Linked DNA regions of Homo sapiens: region 2 is linked to region 1. Evidence: promoter capture Hi-C in human tissues and cell types (Jung and others, 2019). All regions are on one chromosome and are shown on one strand. Each heading gives the region's core, a stretch centred on a gene start or on the middle of the fragment in contact. The rest is flanking DNA. Distances are from core to core; before and after follow the strand shown. Region 1 holds the start of CDH26 (cadherin 26). Region 2 overlaps PHACTR3 (phosphatase and actin regulator 3).

Region 1 (6,868 bases), core at 3,077-5,576:
TCCACCACCTCGGGAACCCACAGGATTGGTCTCTCCCATTCATTCCATCCTTCTGTGGTGGGTTGAATTGTGTCCCTAAAAGCGTATATTGAAGACTTAATTCCCAGTACCTGTGAACGGGACCTTATTTGGAAATAGGCTATTTGCAGATGTAATTCTTAACTGAATTACAGTTAAGATGAAGTCACACTGGGTTAGAGTGGGCCCTAATCTAGTGAGCAGTGTCTCGATAGGAAAACACAGACACAAAGGGATGATGCCATGTCATGACAGGGGCAGAGACTGGAGTGACGTAGCTGCAAGCCAAGAAACAGCTGGGATTGCCAGCAACCCACCAGAAGCTGGGGAGAGGCCAGGGAGGGTCCTCCCAGTCTCAGACGGATTTTGGCCCTGCTGACGCCTTGGTTTCAGACTTCTGACTTCTAGAACTGCAAGAGAGTACATTTCTCCTATTTTAAGCCGACGTACCAGTTTGTGGTTCATTGTTTCAGCAGTCTGAGGACACTAATATATGTTCCTAACACATTCTCTGCACAGAGGCTTGAGTGATCTTTAAAAGCACAGATCTCACACCCCTTTCCCCCCAGTGTTTTTACTTCTCTTAGGACAGAATCCAACCTGCTCTGTCCCCTGCTGACCCTCTCAGCTTCACCTCTGACCACACTATCCCCACCTTCTGCAACCCATCACTCTGTTGGTCTTAAATGAAGGGCTGAAAGAGTAATTCAGTCAGAGCATAAATGCTAACAATTTATTAAAATGTAACTCAATTCAGAATTTCCCAGATTGGTAACAACGCCACCACCACCAACAACAAAAAATCATAAGTGGCTTTTCTCATTGTACAGTTTCATTCTCTTAAAACTTCCCTCTTCTCTGGTCTTTGAAGCCTGCCACAGCCCCAAGGTGAGGACATATGAGCTCAGAGGCCTGGAAATGACAAAAGGGGAGAAAACTCCTCTTCCTTGGCTTGTCATTACTTGTCACTGAACCTGGAACAAAGACATAAACCTGCAGAACAGAATCCTGACTTGGTGATTTGGCTTCATGGCCAAATGACAAAGAAAGGGTGTGGGGATTTCAGAGGAAAACTATTGTGGACACAATAGCTCTCCAGCAGAAATGGTATCAGCTTGTAAATATGGAGATCTGAACAGGGGGAAGTAGGTATCTGTCATAGATGTCACAGATGGCAATAAGCCAATTCAGGGGGCGGGGATGTAAAGGAATGGAACGGAATGTTACTCATAGCCAATTTGACAATTATTGAGCACCTGCCAGGTGTAAAGCTCTTTAAGAGTTAAAGGTCCAGCATTCTGATTGCTAAAAACTTCTTACATCTATTGAATCATGTTCTCTTCATCTGTCTTGATTCCCTGGAATCTACATAAAGCTGCTGTCATCAATCACTGAAGTACAATCCACAGACCCATTCCCACTGCCCACCCCCACCCAACCACCCTCAGAAGTCAATTAATTTGCTTTGGCACTGCACTAATACGCCAGAGGGAAGAGAATTCAGGTCTGTTTCCTGATCAGACTCATTGTGGGTAGGAGCAGGAGTGAGGGAAGGATGGGGACAGGATTTGATCTGGACTATATTCAAATCCATGCAAACATGGGCTACTAAAAAGGACTTCTGTGAAGTATTGGAGATCAAATTAATGTGCTGTCTGACTAAGGAAACTCGTAACTCTTGATATGGCAAAATGTGACCAAGAAAATTCTCCAAACCTCAAGCAACTGGTACCAAACAAGTTATCCACTTTCAGACAGGGTTTTCCCCCTATTATGTTTATTGGTGTATTCCCAGTGCCTGGCCCAAAGCAGGTATCCAGTAAATAGTTTTAGCATGAGCTCTGAATGAATATTGCCAACCATTTTCACTGTGATTAGAAAAACGGCTGGGTCGTTACTGAACTGTGAACCTAATAGTAGACAGAGGCTCTCTAAGAGAAGATGACGTTTGTCTGGGCAAGGACATATCCATGGGAATATGTGTGCCATGGTAAACGATGTGCAGAGTCAGGGAGGTAAAGGGAGATAAAGGTTTTCAAAGGAAAAAATGAGAAGGATTATATCATTGTTTTGAAATAATTATCTTTGGCTACAAAGATCAATAAGAAGGGTGACACTGGTCTGAGTTTGCACAAAAAGTTGCTGGGAAGATTTCTTCGAAAAAGTATTTTTTGTGTAAGGTTTTAACGGCCTTTGTGCAAAGTTGTTATTTTTGCAGAGCTTTTGTGATAGTTTTAGTTATCAAGCCTACAAATGTGAGAACCCCCTTTTCATAACCTTCTTTGTGTCTATATATCAGGCTTTGTGCCTGTGTGTGTGTGTGTGTGTGTGTGTGTTTTAACATAAGGAACTCCATTCTGATTCTGACAACTTTCGCAGTACCAAGGGCTTTTACGCATTTCCTCATTCACTGGTACAACCACTGGCTCAGATAAATTCAGTTACTAGCTCCATTTTCAGGTGAAGAAAAATAGGCTTAACAAGGTTATGTTAAAACCAGTGCACTGACACCCAGTGCACTCCCAGGTCAGCTCAACCTGAACCTTTGGGGGCAAAACCCAGGCACTGAGATCCCTTGAAGCTCCCTAGGTAAGTTCAACTTGATCCAAGGTAAGGAACAAAGTTAAGCTGGCCTAGGTCCCCAGCGGGCTGTGAAGGAGCCTAGGTCAGGACGCCAAGCAGCCCAGTCCAGAGCTCACAGTTACCAGCCACTGGGCTGCTTCCCACCCTCAGCTGGTATTCAAAGGAAGAAATGATTCCCTCTCCCTACCTACAGAAAGCCAACGAAGCAGATCATAACCAACAAGCGCATGCAACATTACCTCTGTCCACTCTAAGTACAAACAGAGCAAGCCCATGTGTTTCGAATCCTGACTCCACTAGTTTGTATTCCCATTTAAACAGTGGCAGTTGGGGGCAATGGATTTAGCCATTCCATCCCCATGGGTTTGCTCAAATTGCCTTGGATCCAGACAACTGAGATTTCCTCAATCTTATGTAAAGTGTGAACAGAAGTATCATTATAAAACTTGGCAGGGCGCAGTGTCTCAAGCCTGTCATCCTAACACTTTGGGAGGCTGAGGCAGGCAGATCACTTGAGGTCAGGAGTTTGAGACCAGCCTGGCCAACATGGTGAAACCCTGTCTCTAATAAAAATACAAAAACTAGCCGGGCATGGTGGCGTGCACCTGTAGTCCCAGTACTCGGGAGGCTGAGCCAGGAGGTTGCTTGAACCCAGTAGGAGGAGGTTGCGGTGCACTGAGATGTCACCACGCACTGTAGCCTGGATGACGAGACCCTGTCTCAAAAAAAAAAAAAAATTGTGTGTGTTGGCTGGGTGAGGTGGCTCATGCCTGTAAACCCAACACTTCGGAAGGGCAAGGCGAATAAATCACTTGAGCTTAGGAGTTCGAGACCAGCCTGGGCAACATGGTGAAAATCCATCTCTATAAAAAATACAGAAATTAGCCAGCGTGGTGGTAAGTTACTGTAGTCCCAGCTACTCTTGAGGCTGAGGTGGAAGGATCACCTGAGCCTGGGAGGTTAAAGCTGCAGTGAGCCTTGATCATGCCACTGCACTCCAGCCTGGATGATGAAGCCAGACCCTGTCTCAACAAAAGGAGAAAGAAACAAAGAAAGAAAACACGTGTGTGTTGATGTAATCTCACTAAAAATAGTGTGAACTATATAAATTAGTTTTAAACAGGTCCCTTAGCCTGCTCCCACTGTTGCCCCAAACAGACTGGGACCCTTAACTTCCCTTTATATAAATCCAGAGCCCCTGCTACCTAAGCCATTCTCAAGACAGCCAGCCCTGGGTCCCAGCAGGTCACACTCAGTCCCTCTCCCCTCCCTTAGCCTAGAAGGGGCAGGGCCAGCTTGTGCTTTGCTTTCAGTTCCCTGCACCTGAGCACTAGGCTGCAGGCTCAGCTTACCTGCAGCAGCCACAGCAGCAGCACTAGAAGCAGCAGCAGCGAGGGGTGCCTCCCGGATCTCATGGCCATATGGGAATACCCAAGACAGACCCAGAACGTGCAGCTGATGACCAGTCCTCCAAGCTGGTGGTCTCACCGGAGCCACACACCTCCTTCTCAGCCAGCAGCTTCTTCTCTAAAGGTTTTCAGGTCACTTTGGCCCAGATGCTTTCATCCCATCTTGCTCCTCCCTTTTCAGCTTTTCTTGCATTTATCAGAGTGGGGTGGGCTGACTTGTAAGCTTGAACATACGTTTGCCACAAGTAGAGTTCCTAGGAAGGGTGGGGTAGAAACTAAAGCCACCATGGTCCTGCACGTACACAAAAGACTGGCTGGGGTCTGACCTCAGGAACAACAGCTCAGCCAGCGGAAGTAAAACCAGCACCTATCGGAAAGCAGAATTATTTGTTTCTTTGTTTCCTTGTTTGTTCTGGTTTCCAAATAGAAGGTCCAATCATCTCTTTCTATAGCAGGATATGTTAGTGACTATTTTCTATAATCTTATCCTCTTGAACCAAACAAAAAAAACTAGAAAATGACAAGAATGATAACTTTATTAAGGGGGAAGGGATGGGGAAGAATGAAAGAAAAGAAAAATCAACTTTTACTTTCCAAAGCACTAAAAATCGTTATTCCAACAATATCCCAGGGCTCTGGGGTTTTCAAATTATTTCTACTAAAACCTTTTTTAAGCTTAGATTAATCTGCCTTTTTGAGTTTGGAATTAAAGTGGGAGGGAGGAGAGATGGGAAAGAGCCTCCCTATGGACAGGGATCTCTGTGGCAACCCGGGAGTCTTTGCATGAGAATTCTGAAAGAGACAATTTGAGATTATATTATACCAATACTTAAGGTTGCAGTAAGCAAGTTTTAAAACACAATCTGTGATACATTAACCCTGATTACCTTAACATGACCTTTTTATCACATTACCTTGTTTAAAGTAGTAAACAGATAAAATAAAAGGTAAACTTTCTTTGCTTGTTCTAGATATTGGCTTAGGCAAGGATTTCATGACCAAGAACCAAAAAGCAAATGCAATAAAATCAAAGATAAATAGCTGGGACCTAATTAAACTAAAGAGCTTTTGCACTGCAAAAGGAACAGTCAGCAGAGTAAACAGACAACCCACAGAGTGGGAGAAAATCTTCACAATCTATACATCTGACAAAGGATTAATATCCAGAATCCACAATGAACTCCAACAAATCAGTAAGAAAAAAACAATCCCATCAAAAAGTGGGATAAGGACATGAATAGACAATTCTCAAAAGAAGATATACAAATGGTCAACAAGCATATGAAAAAATGCTCAACATCACCAATGATCAGCAAAACGCAAATCAAAACCGCAGTGCGATACCACCTTACTCCTGCAAGAATGACCATAATCAAAAAATCAAAAAACAGTAGACGTTGGTGTGGATGTGACAATCAGGGAACACTTCTACACTGCTGGGGGGAATATAACATAGTACAGCTGCTATGGAAAACAGTGTGGAGATTCCTTAAAGAACAAAAGTAGAACTACCATTTGATCCAGCAATCCCACTACTGGGTATCTTCCCAGAGGAAAAGAAGTCATTATTCGAAAAAGATACTTGCACATGCACGTTTATAGCAGCAAAATTCACAATTGCAAAATCGTGGAACCAACCCAAATGCCCATCAATCAACTAGTGGATAAAGAAAATGTGTATATGCGTATCTATATGTATATATACACATATATGCGTGTATATATGTGTATGTACATATATACACATATATGTGTGTATATATGTGTATGTACATATATACACGCATATATGTATATATACACATATATGTGTATATATGTGTATGTACATATATACACATATATACATACATATATACACACATATATGTATATATATACATACACATATATACACACATATATGTATATATATACATACACATATATATACACATATATATGTATATATATGTGTATATACAGATATATATGATGGAATACTACTCAGCCATAAAAAGGAATGAATTAACAGCATTTGCAGTGACCTGGATGAGATTGGAGACTATTATTCTAAATGAAGTAACTCAGGAATGGAAAATCAAACATTGTATATTCTCACTGATTTGTGGGAGCTAAGCTATGAGGACACAAAGGCATAAGAATCATACAATGGACTTTGGGGAATTGGGGGGAAGAGTGGGAAGAGGGTGAGGGATAAAAGACAACAAATATGGTGCAGTGTATACTGCTTGGGTGATGGGTGCACCAGGATCTCACAAATCTCCACTGAAAAACTTACTCATGTAACCAATATGCCACCTGTACCCCAATAACTTATGGAAAAATAAAATTAAAAAATAAAAATAAAAAAGAACTCATCAAAAATAAAATATAAAATAAAAATCTCCCAATTAAAAAAAAAAAACTTTCTTTGCTTAACTGAACATTCATAGCTCTGAGATGCTGCTGAATATTTTAATTTGAATAGTTTATTTTTATTGAAATTAATAGCTTATTATTGAAAAGAATAATAAATACAACTTTAAAGTCTATAGATATTTCCTGTGCATAAAGAGAAACTGAATACCTTGTGCCTATTTTCAAAGTGGATATTTCTATAATGATAGCCTATTTTTAAAAAACTGATTAAGTTAGAATCACTAATTTAGAATATATAAGTCAGGTGAGCTAAACCATGTTAAATATATGTGAAAAAACCACGTCAGTTGAGCACTCCCTGCTGCTAGAATAGCGCTGGGGACTAAAATATTGTTGCTAGAAAGGCATTAGCCTCACAATGTTCTAGTCTGGGCGGAGCTGGGGGACAACAGTGAAGGATTCCACTTTCACATTCGTTTTAAGTTTAAAAGAAATTG
Region 2 (6,822 bases), core at 731-3,230, 130 kb after region 1:
CTCTGACCCCTGCCAGCTGGGTGATGGCGTCACGCCCTCCCTTACTTGAGCCTCTGATTCCCCAGGTGAACACCTGCCAACAAAACCCACAGGGATGCTGGGAGAGTCGAGAACACTAAATACAGGAGGAGGTTGACACACAAATAGGTGGCATCATTACTACTATAGCACTGATATTATTCACCTGGCGTGCTGAGCCCAGGTCTCTTCCACCTTCAGCCAGCAGAGCTGCAGGCTCCATCCTGCCCAGCGCCTCCTTGCAGGCCTGGATCCCCAAGAATCACTCCTCCTTCAGACACTCACAGCCTCCTCCATCAGACGGATGCTCACACCCTCTTTCAACATCTGCTCATTCACACCTCCATCAGATGTTCACATCTTCCTCCATCAGATGCCCACACATTCCTCCATCAGACACTCACACCCTCTTCATCACTCATGCTCTCTCCATCAGACATTCACACCGTCTCCATCAGACACACCCTCCTCCATCAAATACTCACACCTTCTTTCATCATCTACTCACACTGTCCATCACTCACTTGCTTCCATCAGACACTCATACCCTCTTCTATCAGACACTCATACCCTCTTCCATCAGACACTCACGCCCTCTTCTATCAGACACTCATACCCTCTTCCATCAGACACGCACACCCTCTTCCACCAGACACGCACATGCTCCTGTCTGTCATAGCCTCTTTCATCAGACACCCCCTCTTCTCCCATCAGACGCCGTCTCAGTGCCAAGTTTGTACCAGTTTCTGAATCGTCCTCTGCACACACTGCTCAGCTGACTGCCTTCCTGCATGATGAGCACAGCAGCAGGGGCTGCAGGTAATTTCAGGAAGTGGAAGGACACGGGGTCAGGAGAAGCATAGTTCCAGCTCCCCAAGCTTTGCTTCCCCAATGAAGCCCCACCCAGCCAGGCTGCCCCACTAAACGCACATCCCCCAAATCTTGATCTCACCCCAGCACAGATGTCACAGAAAAGGTTTGAATCAACATCTAAAGTCACCTCAGTGTGGAGCAGAAATTGAGAAGCAATTCCTTCCATACAAGGCAGAATGCCTTCCTAGAGAGAACAGACAGCTCGACACCCACAGGGGACGCCCGGGCTATTTTGGGAGGCTCCTTTCTGGGAATGCCAATCCTGCCCCACAGCCGCCTTGAGTCACTGAGAAAAGCTGGCGGCCCCCGCCTGGAGATGGGATTCCCCAGCGAGGCAGCGTCTCCACACACCATTCACACGACGCATTGATGCATCCTCAGACATCTGATGGTGAATGGGGCAGATGTCTCGTCTGCTTGCCCCCAGGCGCACACCATCTGGGTGCACGGATGACAGGCACATTGACCCTATGTCTCAGAGCGTCAGAGCAATGTGGGTGTGTCTGGAGAGAAGTTCAGGAAGAGAAGAGGACTCTCCAGGCCATAAGATGAGGCCTGGATGATGAAAGAAACCGCCCAGGGAAAGACCTGGGATGGGCATCCAGGCAGAGGGGATGGAGTGTGTCCACACTAGGAAACAGCAAGCAGGGATGTTCTGCCGACTGAGGGCTCAGCTGAGAGGTGCTGGCTGCTGGTCCACATGCCTGGGGCAAGCCCCATCTCAGCAGCCAGCAGTCCTGACTTCTGGGATGCCGGGGAGGATGTGACTCCAGGCACTCTGAGTCCAAAGCCGACCTTTTCACACCCTGTTCCCCACCTCCTCACACCTGCTCCGTGCCCAGCATCCTGGGCTCAGGGGCTGGCTCCAGCCACCACCCAGGCACACACCAGACCCCTGGGAGAACTGGCTCCTCTTACTCCCTACGTCCAACACCCCAGGAAGCTCCAAGTCTGCTGGGTTCTGCTTGCATCCATCCATCCGTCCATCCATCCATCTGCCTCTCTCCATCCCCAAGGCCACTTCCCTGATCCAGGCCACAAGCCTCAGCCCTGGATGATGGAGACTTCCACACTGTCCACCTCCCTGCCCACAGCAGCATAACTCTAACTCCTACTCCCACGATGAGCTCAAGCCCGGGTTCCCACCATCCTCAGGACAAACTCCAAGGCCCTCAGCAAAGCCTTTCAGTTTACGGTGACCCCTCCAGCAGCCCCTCCTACTCCCACCCCTCCCAAAACTCCATGCCGGGTGATGGCCCCACGTCGAGCTGCATTTACCAATAAGTGGCTGTTCACACTGTCCCTGTCCGGCAAAGATGTCCTTCTCCTCACACGGGTCCGCAGCCCCACTGTACCCCACACACCCCCATTATTACAATTGTTCTGTCTTGTCCCTTTTCCTCCAAATCCCTGACACGCATAACCAAAAAAACAACATAACACCCTATCTGCAATATAAAGGAGGAAAAAGGAAATTAAGTTTTAATCAAATAACACATATTCCGATAGGTAAGTAAGTGCCAGGCATGGCTGGATTGGGTGACACAGCACACAATGCCAATGCTGCCGCTACAGAAAAATCACCATCACAGTGCCAGCCACCAATGCAGACAGACCCACAGCTGCCACACTGGTCACTCCATGCCCTGAGAGACACTAGTGGAGGAATGCTTCTTGGTGAAGCTCTGGACAAAGCAAGGTTCCCTCCCCAATCTGTGGGAGAGGTTTCTGGCATTTTGCATTCCAGGAGACGCCACCTGTAATACAGCTCCACCAAAATACCTCCTGTGTGTGTCCACAATGCACTTGGGATGAGGCTCAGGTCATCATAAACAGGCTTCGGACTCTCATGAGTGTCCCAGGGACATTCAGAAGTCAAGTGGAATGGGGGGCCAGTCTTCATTGCTAAGGGAGTGCCCCATGGCTGCAGAACACCTGCCTCCCGGGACCATCCTGAAAATACAGCAGGAGCTCCAGTTGCTGTGACAATCCACAGAGCTGCCCTGAGTTTCCAAAAGGCAACAGAACGGCTGGCCTGCCTCCTGTGTCCTGAGGGCATAGGAGGCAGGGCAACTTCAACTCCACCAGGAAGCCCCGCCAAGCTTGGTGCAGTGGGGGGCTTCTGATGTCGGGAAGGTGTCCCATGCCTCTTGTGCCCACAGTGACAAGCCTTCAGGCCAAAGGCTCCTGCCTACTCTGTCCTCCCAACCCCACCCTGCAGGAGAAATATGTCCCCTGGAGCCTGGGCTCCCTCCCAGGGCAGCACAGAAAAGAACTCCAGGTACGTGGAGTTGGCCTCCCAGACTCTCCAGTGTCTCTTGTCCTCCACCTCCTGGGTGCAGCCAGTCTCCTCTCTGCACCTCCATGGTCTCACCTGGTGAGACTGAAAGGAGAGAGCCGTATGTGAGGGGGCTAGCCAGGCCGCTGTGCCCTGGGCTCCGCAAGCTGCACACCGCACTGTCTCCATCACTGTTGCTATTTCTGTTTTGTCAGCCTGGCTCTGTGGCCCACCCTAAGCCAAAAAGGGACTCTAGACTGCCCTGCCCAGGGTTGGGTTAGTGCCCCTGGGATACAGATGAGATGAGTCCTTCACCCTCTGCACCAGGAACAGCCCCAGTGGTGGTGGGGAGGGGTCTCGCCTCCAATCAGCCTCCTGGAGCCGGGTGTTCCAAGGGCTCAGGTGAGGCACCAAGATCACGTGCACCCCCGCCCATGAAGGCCAGCTGGTCACCAGCACCAGTCTCTCCGGATGGTTCCCGGGCTGCCCTGAGAGGCTTCCCCAACCCCACCGTGAACATGCCCCTTCTACCTCCTCTTCCAGGTGCTAAAGACAGCAACATGGACACCAAGGGACATCCAGGTCACCTTCCATCTGGGGACTCTCAGAGGTACTGAGGAATCACCTGGTGCCTGAGAACTATGGGAGGGAAGGAGGGAGGGAAGGAGAGAAGGGAGGGGAGCAGGGAGAGGGAAGGATTCAAATCCTCCGGAGGAAAACCAGGCCCTTGACTTTCAGGACCAAACTCGCATCTACCTGTAGAGAGGCACTTTCTGTTCTCACAGTCAAGGTAACGCAGAGAATGTCATTCACAGTGACACCCAGCCCTGCCAATGCTACTTTTGAAAGGAGGAAAGTGGAGTGAGGAAGAAAGGCCAAGAACATGTGTGCAAAGAGGAGGGAGAGACGCACCCTGCAGGGAAGGACGTGAGAGAGGGAAGCAGAGACAGCAGGCGTAACAGGCAGGGCCAGGACTGTGTGTGCAGAGCAGGCATGAGAGACAGGGCAGGGACAGAGTGTGTGGGAGAGTGGGTATGAGAGGCAGAGTGAGGACAGTGTGTACAGAGAGAGCAGGTGTGAGAGGCAGGGCCAGGAGGGTGTGTGCAGAGACAGCAGGTGTGAGAGGCAGGGTGAGGACAGCATGTGCCCTGTAATGCCAGGTGTAAGGCTGGGGCAGGGGAGCGCACTGGAAGGAATGTGCCCCACACCCCACTGGGCCCCACCACCCTGCCTGGCCTCCTTGGGTCCCAGCCAAGGGTGAGCCAAGCCCAGGTTGAGTCAGCTGGGAAGAACCAAGATGCTGGCCCCACATTGGCCCAGACCAGGGACACTCAGCGAAGATCTGTGCTCAGCCACCAGGACCCAGAGGCCCGAGCCTGTGGCAGGGAATTCCTGGAGGGAGACAACCTGCTGAGGAGCAGAGCTCCAGCCTCCTCGAAGCCCCTGAGCACCCCTCCCCTCCCCCACCCCACTGATCTCCCTCCTCCCCATACCTTGTCCTCCTTTGGTCATGCTGACCTGCTGAGCTGCCCTTGCCCAGCGCGGCTGCTACAACACAGTCCCCTAAGCTCAGTGTCTTATAAACAACAAAAATCCATTTCTCCCTGTTCTGGAGTCTGGGAAGTCCAAGGTTGAGGTGCCAGCAGATTCGGCATCCGGGGAGGACCCACTTTCCCAGAGACAGCATCTTCTCACTGTGTCCTCACATGGTGGAGGGAGCAATGCAGCCCTCAGGGGTCCCTTTTTTGAGGGCGCTAATCCCGCTCAAGAGCACTGCACCCTCATGACCTAATCACCTCCCAAAGGCCCCATGTACAACCACCATCATACTGGGGGTGACACATGAATTTGGGGAGGACACAAACATTCAGACCACAGCACATGCCAAGCTGATTCCCACCCAGCGCCTCTGCCTGGGCCCTTCCCTCTGCTGAGAAAGTTGTTACCCAGATCTCCCCATGGTTCAGCTTAAACCTCTTCTTCCAGAAAGCCCACCCCGACTCCTCCAGCTGAAGTAACTGGCTCCTTTCTGCACAGGTTGCTCCCCAGTGCATTTGTGTATTTTGTGGCCTTCATGGCCAGAATTGATTATTTATGTTTTGAGTACCTCAATGGTAAGAACTGCATCAGTAGTACCCAATGCTGTGTACTCAGGGCCCTGGAACCAAGCCTGGTCCGTGATAAGTGACCAATGAATGAGTGACTGAATGAATGAATGAGTGAATGAGTGAATGAACGAGTGAATGAATGAACAAGTGACTGAATGAATGAATGAGTGTCTGAATGCATGAGTGGATACATGAATGGGACATCAAGGCAACGCCAGGTTTACATTGAGAAACTTGAGCCCAAAGGCTGGTTTTGACAGCAACAAGGCAACCTTGGGCAAGCCACCCTCCAAGCCTGTGAAAGAGACACCACAGTCCCACGCTTGCACAGCTGCCACCAGAGTACAAAAGGCAGTATGTGTGCCAACCCAGGACAAGGCACCAAGCTGGCCAGTTAGGGACTCAGGACCCCTCCAAGGGCAGAGACTTTGTCTACCTGGTCACTGCTGAATCCCCAGCCCCTGCACAGCCTCTCAAGCTGGCACAGCAAAATGAACAGAGAAGCCACTGGCAATACAGGGGCCCCGCTGCAGGGGGCATGGTTCTGGGCTTGTGGGACACAGCTCTGCCTTACTAGTAGAACTGGGCTGCTGTTGTGGGGCAAGTCCAAAGTTCATCGTCATTCACAGACCTCCATGGAAATAACAACCACATGGAGTGTGTGGTTGTGCCAAACAGCACGTCACTGTGCCACCTCCAGATCAGCAGAGGGCAGAAAGTTGGAAAATCCACAATGTTGACAGGAGTGTAGACAGAGCCCCTCCCCCCGCCCCCCCACTGGTGGGGCTGTCAATCAGGGGCATTCCCTGGTGGTCAATGCTCAGGTCAAAAATGACAGATGCATATATTCTCTAACCTGCCAGTTCCAGTTCCAAGATTTCTGATGTGTGTGAACATCCTTCCACATGGGCCTCTTACAGACACACGTATGAGGATGTTCATTATAGCCAAGCACAGGGCAGAGCCTTAATGCCCATTGGGCCTAAAGGACCTGTGTTCAACCCTGCAGTGGAATTCAATGCCATTACAGAAAGGAACCGGGTGCTGCTCCATTAGCCCTTATGTGGAAGGCTCTCCCAGCCAGACTCTGGGGAAGATAAAAGGGAATAAACGTGAATATAGAAACTGCAAAACCACATCATCATTAAGAGTCTAAGCTTTGAACTTGCCCTTTGCTTGAATAGTGGCTTCTCTACAAATCACCTGAGGAGAGAGGCTGTGAGTGAGAGACTGAGTGCAATCTTACATCTGCTCATGAGCTTTCTGCCAACCTTGAATCTGTGAGGGTCAATTTGATGTGTCAACCTGAATGGTATGGGGGGTGGGGTCCCAGTCCCCAGTTACTCAACCAAACACTCCTCTAGGTGCTGCTGTGACGGCGTCTGGTAGATGTGACCAAGGGCCGTGATCAGCTGACTTTAAGTCAAGGAGAGTGTCCTGGCTGAAATGGGTGGGCCTGATCTGATCAGTGGGAAGGCCTTAGATACCGGTTGAGGCTTCTTGAAGCAGAAATCCTTCAGTGGCTCCAGCCATGCTGGGCATCCC

Evidence for each region. Contacts are between HindIII fragments. The study calls those that stand out against the background at their distance.
Region 2: a contact is called between a fragment that was not itself captured here and the fragment with the promoter of CDH26 in region 1, in 1 of the 25 tissues and cell types used here (mesendoderm cells).

Annotation. Positions count from the first base shown.
Region 1 is chr20:59,955,881-59,962,748 of GRCh38, reverse strand. CDH26 (cadherin 26) reads right to left here and starts at 4,326. Exons shown (of 18, transcript NM_177980.4): 1 at 3,954-4,326. The coding sequence starts at 4,022. The HindIII fragment of the contact is 5,804 bases long and covers 1,578-6,868 here.
Region 2 is chr20:59,824,010-59,830,831 of GRCh38, reverse strand. All of the region lies in intron 8 of PHACTR3 (phosphatase and actin regulator 3), which reads right to left. Among named protein-coding and RNA genes, the nearest start is that of SYCP2, 110 kb to the left of the region's middle. The HindIII fragment of the contact is 5,468 bases long and covers 1-4,714 here.